2 separate regions of the Homo sapiens genome follow, and region 1 is linked to region 2. Evidence: promoter capture Hi-C in 16 types of primary human blood cells and fetal thymus (Javierre and others, 2016). All regions are on one chromosome and are shown on one strand. Each heading gives the region's core, a stretch centred on a gene start or on the middle of the fragment in contact. The rest is flanking DNA. Distances are from core to core; before and after follow the strand shown. Region 1 holds the start of EFNA2 (ephrin A2). Region 2 holds the start of ATP8B3 (ATPase phospholipid transporting 8B3).

What was found. The method cuts DNA at HindIII sites, captures the fragments that hold promoters and counts their contacts. A CHiCAGO score of 5 or more calls a contact.
Region 1: a fragment that was not itself captured here is called in contact with the fragment with the promoter of ATP8B3 in region 2 in 1 of 17 cell types (activated CD4 T cells); the score reaches 5.2 in activated CD4 T cells.

The regions. Positions count from the first base shown.
Region 1 is chr19:1,281,981-1,288,810 of GRCh38, forward strand. It overlaps EFNA2 (ephrin A2), which reads left to right and starts at 3,893. Exons shown (of 4, transcript NM_001405.4): 1 at 3,893-4,328. The coding sequence starts at 4,189. RefSeq lists enhancers at 607-1,453, 2,977-3,477, 3,478-3,978, 5,983-6,569. The HindIII fragment of the contact is 540 bases long and covers 1,485-2,024 here.
Region 2 is chr19:1,809,952-1,815,155 of GRCh38, forward strand. ATP8B3 (ATPase phospholipid transporting 8B3) reads right to left here and starts at 2,325. Exons shown (of 29, transcript NM_138813.4): 1 at 2,235-2,325; 2 at 1,538-1,933; 3 at 671-732. The coding sequence starts at 1,785. RefSeq lists enhancers at 1,833-2,578, 2,959-3,118 and a silencer at 2,039-2,408. The HindIII fragment of the contact is 25,835 bases long and covers 1-5,204 here.

The DNA.
Region 1 (6,830 bases), core at 505-3,004, 530 kb before region 2:
TCTTGGAAAGTTCTGGACGCTGGTGGTGTCTGGACACTGGAGAACGGGTCTGTGTTCAGGCCCCAGACCTGAAGGTGGGATGAGGGAGAGAGGAAGGAGGAGGAAGGGGAGGAGGGAGGGGACAGAGTGGGAAGGAGAAGGATGTGAATGGAGAGGAAGGATGGGAGGAGGAAGGAAGGAAGGAGGGAAGGGGAGGAGGAGGAAGGAGAGGAGGGTGCAGAGGATGGGGGAAGGAGGGGGGAGGAGGGTGTGAAGGGGAAGGAGGGAGGAGGGAGCGGAGGACTGAGAAGGGGAGGAAGGTGTAAAAGGAGAGGGAGAGAGGAAGGAAGGGAGGGGGTATTAAGGGGGAAGAGAGTGGGAAGGGGGAGGAGGGAGGGGAGGGTAGTATGAAGGGGGAAGGAAGGAGGGAGGGGAGAAGGGTGGGAAGGGGAGGAAGGAGAGAGGGAGGGAGGGGAAGGTGTGAAGGGAAGGAGGGAGGGGAGGTGGGAGGGAAGTAGGGAGGGGGAGGGAGGGGAAAGGTGTGAAGGGAAGGAGGGAGGGGAGGAGGGAGGGAGGAGGGTGTGAAGGGAGGAGGGGGAGGAGGGTGGGAGGGGAGGAGGGAGGGAGGAGGGTGTGAAGGTGTGAAGGGAGGAGGGAGGGAGGGGAGGAGGGAGGGAGGAGGGTGTGAAGGGAGGAGGGAGGGAGGAGGGTGTGAAGGGAGGAGGGAGGGAGGGGAGGAGGGAGGGAGGAGAGTGTGAAGAGAGGAGAATGGGAAGGATGGGAGCTGGGGAGGAGGGAGGAGGGTGAGCTGGGAATGGGGCTGTGTGCCTGCTCTTTTCCACCACTGGCTGCAGGGGTTGCAGGAATCTTGGGTCCATGGCTGGATGGGGGTGGGGATTTTCATGTTACCCACTGGAGAAAGGGATACATTTTTATTTTCAAGGACAGCGACCCAGCCCAGGGGAAACGCCCCTGGCCCCTGGGGCTAAGCGCAGACCCCAGCTCCGTGCTTCGCAGGTGGGGGGCGATGGACAGCGGTGGGGCTCCCGCCCTGAGTGGAGCCTGTGACCTGCCCGGGCCCCAGCGCCCCGTGACCCCTGCCGCCTGATCCTTGCCTGGCTGAGATGGGGCTTCTGAAGGCTGCCGGCACCAGGGCAGGCAGCGCATTGGGTCCAATTTATTCTGTAATGAGAAATTCTCCCCGCATATTTTTAGCTTCCTCCTGGCGTCGCGGCCTTTGAAGGCTGAGGGGCTGCGGGACGCTGATCCCAAGCCCTGTGGCCTGGCCATGTGGGCAGTGGGTGCTGGGCACGGGCTGGACAAGTCCCTTCCTGAGTCTGGGTAGACCCCAGTCCCAGCAGTGCAGAGCAGGGGGCGGGGCCAGACCCCATCAAGCCCTGTACTGGCTCCAGACCAGGGACTGAGGGCGACCCTGGATAACCCCTGACCTTGGCGGACACCTGTTCCCAGAGTGAGCCTGATTTCTGACCCTTGGCTCCACAGGAAGCTTACTCTAGAGTGACCTCCGGCCGCGGCTGCGTCCCAAAGCCGGGACAGCTCCCAGCCCCAGGAGGGAACAGGGCTTCTTGGACCCCCACAGTGGCCCCCCTGCCAGGCAGGGGTTTGCCGGGGCAGCCTCGCCCAGGGCCAGGCCTCGGAGACGCCCTGCCCTCCCCTCCCTTCCCCAGGTCCTTCCTCTAGGAGCGGCCAGCGGGCGCGGGGAGGTTGAATGGGGGACGCACCGCCTTTGTTCCCGTCCCTGCTTGGGCTCTGACCTTGAGAGAGACAAGAACAGAAGGAAAACGGAGCTTCTGCTCAAATCCGTTCAGCGGTGGCGGTGGTGGCGGCTCTCGCCTCGGTGGCCCCTGCATGCAAATGAGTGGCCCTGCCATGCCTGGGTGGAGGTGGTGCCCTTCCAGCTCCCACCTGTGCAGGTCCCAGTCCTGGTTTGAGAAGAGACCCCCTCCTCCCGACCCTGGCCCACCCCTCCTCACCCACGAGATCCCTTGAAGCAGGAGGGGGCTTCTGGTCCCAGGGTAGAAGGAAGCTTCCAGAACTCCCACCTTTGCCAGGTGGCATGCTGGGGCCGGGCACGCCAAGACCCCAGGCTCACGGCCCCTTGTCCTGTGCTTGGGTGCAGCCGCCACACTCTGCTCCGAAAGTGCTCACCTCCGGGAGTGGCCGTCCCCCTCCCTAAAAGAGCCCCCCACCAGACGGAGCCGCCCGGGAAGCTTCTCCAGCCTGTCTGGGCTACAGAGCCTTGTGTGGCTAGAACCCAAGGCCCTCACTCCAGGGGTGCTGAGAGAGCCTGTCCAGAGGGCCTGCCTCAGCCACCACCTGGGACAGGTTCACGCCCTCCACTGAAGAGACACCCGGCCAGCCCTGGGCCTTCGACCTGGGACGTCTGTAGTGGGGTCAGGGGATGAGACCTGGAGCTCAGAACAGACGGGCTGAGCTCCCTGGAGGAGAGAGAACTGAGAACCTTGTCCTGGCAGGGACGCTAGAGCACTGGGTGGGACAGACCTTTCTGGAAGAGCAAGATTTTAACAGGAAGAAAAAGTGGAAGGACTTCCCAGCAGGACCCAGCCTGAACAAAGGTCAGGTGGTGTGGCCCGCGTGGCCCGCTGGGGAATCGGGGGAGGAGGGCACGCAGGAGACACAGGACAGAGCCCACCACGTCTCAGAGCTGTGGGACGGTGGTGGGTCCGGTCCCCACCCCACCTTGCTGGGGCACAGGTTAGCTTGCCCATCTCTGGGTTCACGGTCCCTGCCAGGAGTTTGGGTAATGCCTCACACAGGGACCTTCGGGTCCAAGGGCTGTTGGTGCTTGCCCTGCAGTTCCCTCTCCTGCACTGGGCCTGGTGAATGACACTAATTCAGAGACGTACAACACGATCTGGGCATCGCCAGCAAAGTCCAGCCAGCGTTTGATGACAGCCTACCCTCCACAAGCTCAGAGTCTGGTGAGGGAGGCTGTGGCATGAATAAGGGCAAAAACAGAGGGCAGGCCAGGTGCAGTGGCTCACGCCTGTAATCCTAGCACTTTGGGAAGCCCAGGTGGGAAGATCGCCTGAGCCCAGGAGTTCAAGACCAGCGTGGCCAACATGGCCAGACACTGTCTCTATAGATTGGAAAAAAGACAAAGCAGAGGCCAGGCCCCCAGTTCCCCACCTGTGTCAGCCTACCAGGAGGAGAAATCACTCGGCGTTCCCTGAACAGATCAGACCCCGGGTCTTTGCACAAGCTGTGCCCCCGGGCAGCGGCCCTCCCCTGCCTGCAGGATTCGTGCGTGGAGACTGATTTGCTGTCGGCCGGGGCTTCACTCTGGGCTTCTTGGATCCCATCCCCAGCTGCTCACACTCCACATCGGTCCACCTACTATGCTCCCGGCACCCTTAGGGCTGAGGTGTAGGGACTTACTCCATCCCCAGGGAACAGCGTGGGTCCGGAGAGGCGACTCCCAGGAGGGCCCCAGGGAGGTCGCAGCCCGAGCAGCTTTGGACTTTGGCCAGCGCCCCTCTGAAACTCTGCCCCGGCCCCCGCAGGGAGACTGGAGTTGGCCGAGCCCGATTTGGGACGCGTGCGTCGGGGTTGGTGAGGCTGCGGATAGCGCTGGAACCGGGCAGGTGAGAGGCCCGGGACCCAGGGCCGGGCCGGGTGGAGCGCGTGGGGGCGCGGGAGGCAGGGTGCGCCCCCGCCCCTCGGAGACCCCAGGCCGGGCCACGCGGATGCCGGCGGGGGGCGCGCAGAATCGGGGTCGCTGGGGGCAGGCCCCGGGGGACGAGCCTGAGACGGGGTGGGCCGGGGCAGGGGGCGGGCGCAGGCTGGAGACCCCCGCCCAGTCCCCGCGCGGCCGGGGCACGGCGGGAGGGGGCGCCCGCGGCCCTCCCGACGCTCGGGCGGGACAAAGGCCGGAGCCCGGGCCCCTCCCCGGCGGGTGCGGCGGCGGCGGCCCGCGCTCCGACAGTCCGCGCGGCCGGGTCCTGCGCCCGGGGCGACCCCGGCGCCCCGCCCCGCCGCCGCCTGACTTCTCGGCGCCCGAGGTCGCGCGCGCGGAGGCGGGGGCGGCCCGGGATCTCCAAGCGCCGCCGCGCCCTCCTCCCGCCCGCCCTCCGCCCGCCCGCTCGGCGGCGGCGGCGGCGGCGGAGGAGGCGGAGAAGGCTGGCAGGCGGCGGCCGGGAGAGCGAGCGCGGCGGCCGGACCGGGGCCATGGCGCCCGCGCAGCGCCCGCTGCTCCCGCTGCTGCTCCTGCTGTTACCGCTGCCGCCGCCGCCCTTCGCGCGCGCCGAGGACGCCGCCCGCGCCAACTCGGACCGCTACGCCGTCTACTGGAACCGCAGCAACCCCAGGTGAGCGCGGCCGCGCGCGGGGGGCGCCCGGGGACCCCCCAACGCCCCCCAAGCCGCGCCCGGCCTCGCGCCCCCGGAGCTCCGGGCGCCCCCCACGCGCGCGCCGCCGCCGGGATGCGGGCGCCCGGTTCCCGCGGGAGCCCCCCAGGGAGCTCCGGCCCCCCGGAGTTTGGGGGACTCGCCCTTTTCGCGCCTGCCTTCCCCGGGGCGCCCCATTGCCCTACGGACTGTGGGGACTCGCGCCCCACATCCCCCAGAGCGCCGACGTCTCCTGGAGTTTGGGGAACCCCTCTGGTACCCTCCGATGCCGGGTAGCCCCTGAGTTGCCTGCCTGGACTTGGGGGGACCCCTGATCCACCCGCTTCTCTGGGGAGCCCCCTCGGTTTCGCATTTGGTGGGGATCCCCGGGGACCTTGGCACCGGAGGTGGGGGACTGTGGCCCTCGAGGGATCTCTGGGTTCGTCCTGCCCGCAGGTCCCCAGATGAACTTGGGGAAGTTGGAGTGTCCCTCCCTCAGGACCCAGCATCTGCTTCACTCCAGGGGGCCAAGGGCCCAGCTTTGAAAGGAGACTGAGGGGCCGGGGAGCTGGGGGTCAGCCCCGGGAGGGGCAGTGGGATGGAGTCCTCTCTTGTCCTCTGGGCGCTGACCAGGAAACTGAGGTGCAGAGGGGATGAGGAGCTGGCTCAAGGTCATGCAAGGGGGGGACTTGGGGGCAGGACCCAGGTGGCCCAGTGCCCTGCCTGCCACGCCCGGCCGAGATGCCGCACCCGCCTGCTGCAGGCCCCCTTGTTTTGAACCAGGTCCGGGCCAGGCACAACGTGGGGGACAGGAGAAGCCCCCGTTGGTCAGAGCAAAAAAAGTTTGCCGGGGCCTGGCCATGGCCTGGACGTGGGTAGAACCCTCTGAACCATCCCAGGGTCTCCAAGACAGGAGCAGGCTGCAGCTTCCCTGGGGGTCCCGTGGGAGCCGGGGCTTTGGGGGTCCTGGGGCTCGGGAGGGAGTCAGCCCCAGCACTCAGGGTGTCACCGTCTTCCTAAGGCACACGGAGCTGCACATCGGGGGCTGAGGCGGCCCCCCCCCACTCTTCTGCTACTGGTCACTTTCTCTCCGTTTTCCAGCCGCTTCCTGTGCCGACCGAGCCGCCCTCTGGAGCCCGCCACCCCTCCTTGTCCCCTCTGTCTCCTGCTGTCCTCGGTCCCCGGGAGGAAAGTTGCATGAAGGGGTCTCTTTGAGGCGGGCTCGGGGACAAGGGCGGCCCGTGTTCCGCCGTGGGGGTGGGGAACACGCACAGGCCCACCCCCCACCCTGGTCAACGGCCTCGGGTCGGGCCCTGGGGGCTGAGGGCAGGGACCCCGGGCCGCTGGGGGACGGCTGGCCCACCTCAGAGCGGGTCCCCGAGCCGCCCGCTGTGCTGGTCACATGTGGGTTTGATTAAGGCTGTCGCTGGCCGTGCGGGGAGTCCAGCGGGCAGCGCTTCCCCGGCCCAAGTTTTTGGTTTCAGCTGCGGAATCTCCCGTCCCCAGCGTGGCCTGTCCTTTGTTCTAGCAAACGCCAAACACACGAGGACCCGGCAACCGGGGGAGGAAGGTGGTCACCAGGGCCGTCCTGCTGCCCCACCTGCCACAGGGCTGTGGGCTGCGGGCCGGACCCCCGGCCAGGGGAAGGAAGTGGCCTCCCCAGTGCCTGGCTTGGCCCAGCCACCTCCTGTTGCTCCGGGTCTGACCTGGTTGCCCAGCTCAAACCGCTGCCTGAGGGAACGGCCTTGCTGGTCCGCAGAGCCGACCTGGGCAGCACCGAGGCTGCCTCCTCCTTCCTCTCCTGCCTGCGGTATCCAGGGTTGCTGGGGACGGAGCCGACACCCTGCAGTGGGGCCCAGGGCTGGGTGAGCACCTTCCCGGGAAGCCGGGATCCAGCCAGAATCAGGGCTTTGTCGCGGACATCAGGGGTCTCTGCAGTTCTCAGATTTGGTGTCCAGGGGCACCTGCCCGGGACCTGTGCCTGAGTGGCGGGGGTGTCAGGCACAGCAGGGGGTGGTGCTGGGCCTCCGTATCCAAGGGGACCCTGTGGAGGGGACATCGGCTTGGGGAGAGGAGTGGCGTCAGCCGGCAGGCCTAAGGTGTGAGGCTGGGCTGGCCGGGGAGGGATGATGGGGTCGGGCAGGTGTGTGGGGGATGCGGGGACCCCAAGTCTTTGAGAGGGGCATACAGAAAGGCACTGGAGACGGGGACAGCCGCGATGGGGGGCAGACAGCAGCGTGGGCACCAGGGGACCGTGTGCTCGATGGGGCCTGCAGGCCCGGGCAGTGCCGCAGCGTCGCCGGCCGCCCCTTCCGCCCATTGGCCTGGCACCTGTGCCCAGGCGATGACTGTGTGGTCTGTCTCCACATCACACCCTCTCTGCTGTGAGAGGCGATGCCTGCACCCAGGGGACCCCGCACCCACCTCCTTGGGCCGCTATAAGGTGGGGCCCCGTTGGGTGGTCTGGCTGGCCGGCCCCGCCAC
Region 2 (5,204 bases), core at 1,075-3,574:
GCCACCCACACCCCCAGCCAGGGGCCTGTCCTGAGACGCAGAGAACAGGCCCTGGGAGACCGTTCAGGCCTGTACATTTTACAGAGGGGGGTAAACTGAGGCTTGGTGATGGGCTCTTGGGTGTCCAAGGCCATACATCCAGCTGGCGGCCCAGATCTTTCTGGGCATGCAGCCCCCAAATCCTGAGCCAAATCCCCCAAACCCAGTCAGTACTAGGGTTGGAGACTACTAGAAACCAAATGAGAATCCTAGGCAAGGCCTGACGTGCAGGTCTGGGGGCCCCAGCCCGTCTCAGCCTCAGCCCTGCACTTTTTTCTTTTTTTTGAGATGGAGTCTCGCTCTGTCACCCAGGCTGGAGTGCAGTAGCACAATCGCAGCTCACTGCAACCTCCACCTCCTGGGTCTCCTGGGTTCAAGTGATTCTCCTGTCTCAGCCTCCCAAGTAGCTAGAATTACAGGCATACGCCACCACGCCCAGCTAATCTTCGTACTTTTAGTAGAAACGGGGTTTCTCCATGTTGCCCAGGCTCTCGAACCCCTGACCTCAAGTGATCCACCCGCCTCAGCCTCCCAAAGTGCCGGGATTACAGGGGAGAGCCACCACGCCTGGCCAGCCCTGAACTTCATAATCCCTCCCACCTGCACCGCCCCCTCTGCCCAGGATCAGCACCTGAGTTCCTGTCCTCATCTTGGAGATCTTCTCTCTGGCCGAGGCTGCCCATGCTGGTGGGGCTGTGGGAGAGAAGGGCCCCGGGTCACAGCAGTGACCCCAGCCCTTGCTGGGCACCACTCGGTCTTCAAGGAGCTCACAGCCTAGGGGCCGACCCTCTCAAATGCTACCTCCCACACTCATCTGCAGCCTCCCCGCCAGGCTCTGAATGTCCAGCCATAGGCTGTGTGTCTTGCCTTGGACATCCTGAGACCTAGGGGACCCCAAGATGATCCTCAAACCTGCAACAGCCCATCTGCCAGTGTCCCCCGCCAGCCACCCTGGTCGCCTCCCGCCAGTACAGCCTAGAAGGACTCTACCGCCAGCCATGCCAGCCTCTGGCCATGCCAGCCTCCGGCCACTGCTCCCCACACCTCGCTTTTCCTGAAAGGACCACTCTCACCTCCTCCTGGTTTCACTGACGGCCTCCTGCCCCTCTCCCCATGTGGCACCAGCTTAGGGGCTCAGTCATCTGTTCACTGACTGAATGGGACCCCCGGGCTATATGTTATATCTCAAAACACAGCATGAGGGTCAGGCATGGCCACTCCCCTCCTCACCCCCCCAGGCTGGGCAGCAAACTCTGATGGGGGCGATGGAGGCAGACGGACATCGTCAGAAGATCCTGGAATCTTCTCCACTAGCAGGTTCAGGAATGTGGGTCTGGCTCTAGCCCTGCACCGGGGGCCCTGGTTTGGCCCCCTATGAGGATGGGCAAACCACCCCTAGACGCCAGCAACTGGCCCCCCACCTGCCAGCTCTCTAGCAGTGCCCTCCCCGCCAAGCCCCTGCCCCTGTGTTCCGGCCACCCGATGCACCCGTCCTCACCCTTCTGGTCTCCATTCATACTTCCTAGCCCGGCCAGGCTGGGCCTTGTGCCTCCTCTCAGGTGCCCCTCTGCCTGGGGAGTCTCCCATCCCAGCTCTGATCACCGTCTCACCTCCGCGGATGCCAGCAGGACCTGAGCCTTCCTGAGTCACGTCTGAGTCACCCGTGTCCCCAGGTCCTGGTGGGGCAGGGCTTGGCTCAGGGCCAGCTCTGGTGCTCCTGGGAGTCTGAGCGGGGCCAGTGCCCATTCACCGCATGAGGAAAAGGGAGGTTCAGGGCGAAGAGGGGTTTAGGCTGTGGGACGGGGGAGAGGTGGGGGAGACCCCCGTGGGGGCAGACTGGGGATTGGAGAGTTGGAGAGAATGCTCAAATGGCCAGAATCCACTCGAAGTGTATCTGGGGGCAGAAAGAGACACGGACACAGCGCTGGCTTCCTGCCCCCTCACTAACTGGGATGCCCCATTACTCGGAAGCCCCCCACCCCGTCTTCCCGCAGCCGCAGGGGCACAGGACCGCCCTGGACAGGGCTCCAGAGTCCAGGGCTGTCTGCACCCGCCCCGGGGCCCCGACCGCGCGAACCTCTAGGGGCGCGCTCTCCACCCCCGCCGCCACGACCCCAGCTCTCAGCCTGGGTGGAGCCCAGAGAGGGTGCGCGGGCTCCCGGGGACGCACAGCAGTGGGAGCACCCGCCGCTCACCGGCGCAGGAGAGGCAGGGGGGGGCAGGCCGCGGGCGTCCAGGGCGGCGGACGTGGTGGAACCGTTAGCCCGGTGCCAACGGTCCTGAAACGGGGGGCGGGATCTCGGGGCGGGGCCTCGGGGCCCGGCCAAGGCGAAGGTGGAGCCAGTTCGGACCCCGGAAGGGGGCCGGGGGCGGGGCCTGGAGGGGGTGGGTGGGGCCAAGGCGAAGAAGGGGCGGGGCCTCGAGGGTGGGGCCGAGCGGAGCACGGCCGAGCAGGATGGGGGCCAGGCCTCAGGGACGCGGTCACGGCCGAAGGGCGGGGCCTCGCAGAGCCTCGCAGAACAGGCCGGGATAGAAGACGCTCGGGAGCAGTGCCTGGGTCTGGGGAGGGGCCGGGACTTTGGGGAAGGGACTAGAAGGAAGGCGAGGACGAGCGGGGTCTCGCTGAGCAAAGTCAGAGTAGGGGCGGGGCCAGGACTCAGGGGCTTGGCCAGAGCGGGAAGCGGGGTTGAGCATGGCCTTGCGGAGCAGTGTTATGGTAGGGGCGGGGCTGGGATCCGGAGCCGTTACAAAGGAGGAAGGCGGGGCCGCGCAGAGCAGGGTCAGGGTAGGAGGGCGCTCAGGGTGGGTCCAGGACAGAAGGCAGGGCCTTGGGAGGGCCTTAGGGAGCAGTGCCAGTGCAGGGGCGGAGCCTGAAAGGGAAGAGGGTGTCAGGGCAGGGCCGGGCCGGGCTTGGTCAGGGAGCAGAAAGAACCTGCACCGCAGGGCGGGGTTGGAAGGGTTCTTGGAAAGGTGGGCCTGGGTCAGGTCGGAATGGGCCTTGCAGACCTGACGGGGCTGAGGCTGGTGCGGCCAGCGTGGCAGAGTGCAGGAGGAAGGACCACAGGTAACGGCGGTTATGTAAGTCATGTCTGATCCGTGTCCTGGGTTCGTTCATTCATCCCATACACGTTCAACGAGCGCCTCCTAGGCGCAGATGCAGGGCTGAGCACCAGGCTGGGGAGAGGCGGTTATAGCCATTGAGACCACCCTAAGGCCAAGAGGAAGCCCGCAGGGTTCTTTCCAGCAGGTGGCAGGGGCTCAGGGATCCTTACTGAAGAAGTGGCAGGGGTGAGTTCAGCGACGAGGCTAGGGCGGGTCCAGGCCAGCGATAGGGCCTGGAGCCAGGGTCAGAAAGTGTGTGCGGAGGGGCTGCTGAAGATGAAATGCCCCCAAGAGTGAGGCTACCTGGGGTGAGGGCCCAAAGGGAGAGGCAAACATGGGTGGAGGGGGATAGGGAAGCCACCTCCCCCATCAAAGCGGCAACCACCTGAGGGCTCTCGGTGATCACAAACCCTCTTTCTTTGGAAGCCCAAATTGGAAGCCTGCTTGGCCCTGGAGGCTGCCAGGGAACCTCTCTTTTTTTGGAGACAGAGTCTCACTGTGTCACCCGGGCTGGAGTGCAGTGGTGCGATCAGAGCTCACTGCAGCCTCCACCTCCTGGGCTCAAGCGATCCTCCTGCCTCAGCCTCCAGAGTAGCTGGGACCACAAGCAGGCAGGCAGGCCACTGTGTTTGACTTCTCTCCTTTCATTCCTTCAACACTTCCCCTGTGCTTGCTTGCTTGCTCAGTGGTTACGAAAAAAAGCCGGGGCTGGGAGTTTGAACACACTGTTCTAATAAACTTTAGAAGAGACCTGGTTGGGTGCAGCTGTGAGGACCAGATTCCCCCACCCCAGCCTTCGCAGGGGGCACTATCTGGGGGCAGGAGCTTGCCCAGGGCACTTGTGCAAAGGCCCTGAAGCCTCCAGTGGCAACAGGTGGCTTCACAAGCTGAAGGGAGTCCCTGGGGGCTGAAGCCAGGGCTGGCCAGCCTTGGGACCCCCCGTGGGCTATGTCCTGAGGCACCAGGTGCGTTCTGGGAAGGGGGAGGCAGACATCACATGGGAATGCACAGAAACAGAGCGCATACACGCCTGCGCCATTTATTTAGAACACAGAGCCGGGCACAGTGGCTCATGCCTGTAATCCCAACGCTTTGGGAGGCCGAGGCAGGTGGATCACTTGAGGTCAGGAGTTCGAGACCAGCTTGGCCAACGTGGTGAAACCCCATCTCTACTAAAAATACGAAATTAGCCAGGTGTGATGGCACAGCCATAATCCCAGCTACTCGGCAGACAGAGGTTGCAGCCAGCTGAGACTGGGTGACAAAGCGAGACTGTGTCTCAAAAATAAAGAAGAAAAAGAAAACAACTCCTTTACAGAAGAGGTGGGAGAGTCACTAGTCACAAGAACAGCCCTCGAGGGTGGAAGGGCCTGGCCTAACCACGGTCCCCCAGGAGGGCCCTGGAGAGATGCAGAGCCCAGAACCGGGAAGGGAGCCTTGGGATGGAGTCCTCTGGGGAGGGCCCCCACGTCCTCATCCCGGGACCTGTGCCCTTGGCCTTGCCCTTCAGCAGAAGCCCAAGACCAGGGTGGCAGGAAACCCACTCCAGGCAACCTGCCCCCAGCTGCTGGGTCCTGTCCCGCAAGGCTCATCACTTTTTCTACTTGAGGTCAATAAAAAGTGGGGCCTAAACACCCCTGGGCCTCCCATTTCCAAATGGGGTCCCGATGCAACCACAGTTGCCCGAGACGTGCGTGCACTACACAATGTGTGGCGTTTCCTGGCAAGGGCCGGAGCAGCTTTCCGTGTCTGCACTCCATCCTTTGACGGGCAACACACAGCAGCTCCCAGTCTCTTTAACCCCCTCTCACCATCTGTGTGCAGTCCCTATCTCTGGGCAGGGCAGAGAGGGAAGCCAGCTCTGTGCACAGGGCCCAGCTCCACACAGGGCTGGGGACACCACCCACTGTCCGAGAGGCACTAGAAGCTGCAGGATGGTGGCCCATGATCTGGGGCTGGAACTGGGACCCCACAGCAGGTGTGGCCCAGCCCTGGGGGAGCCAGCCCTGGGCCAGCTTTTGTGAGGGAAAGTTTCACTGCTCTGTTTTCTCTGCGTTGATGGG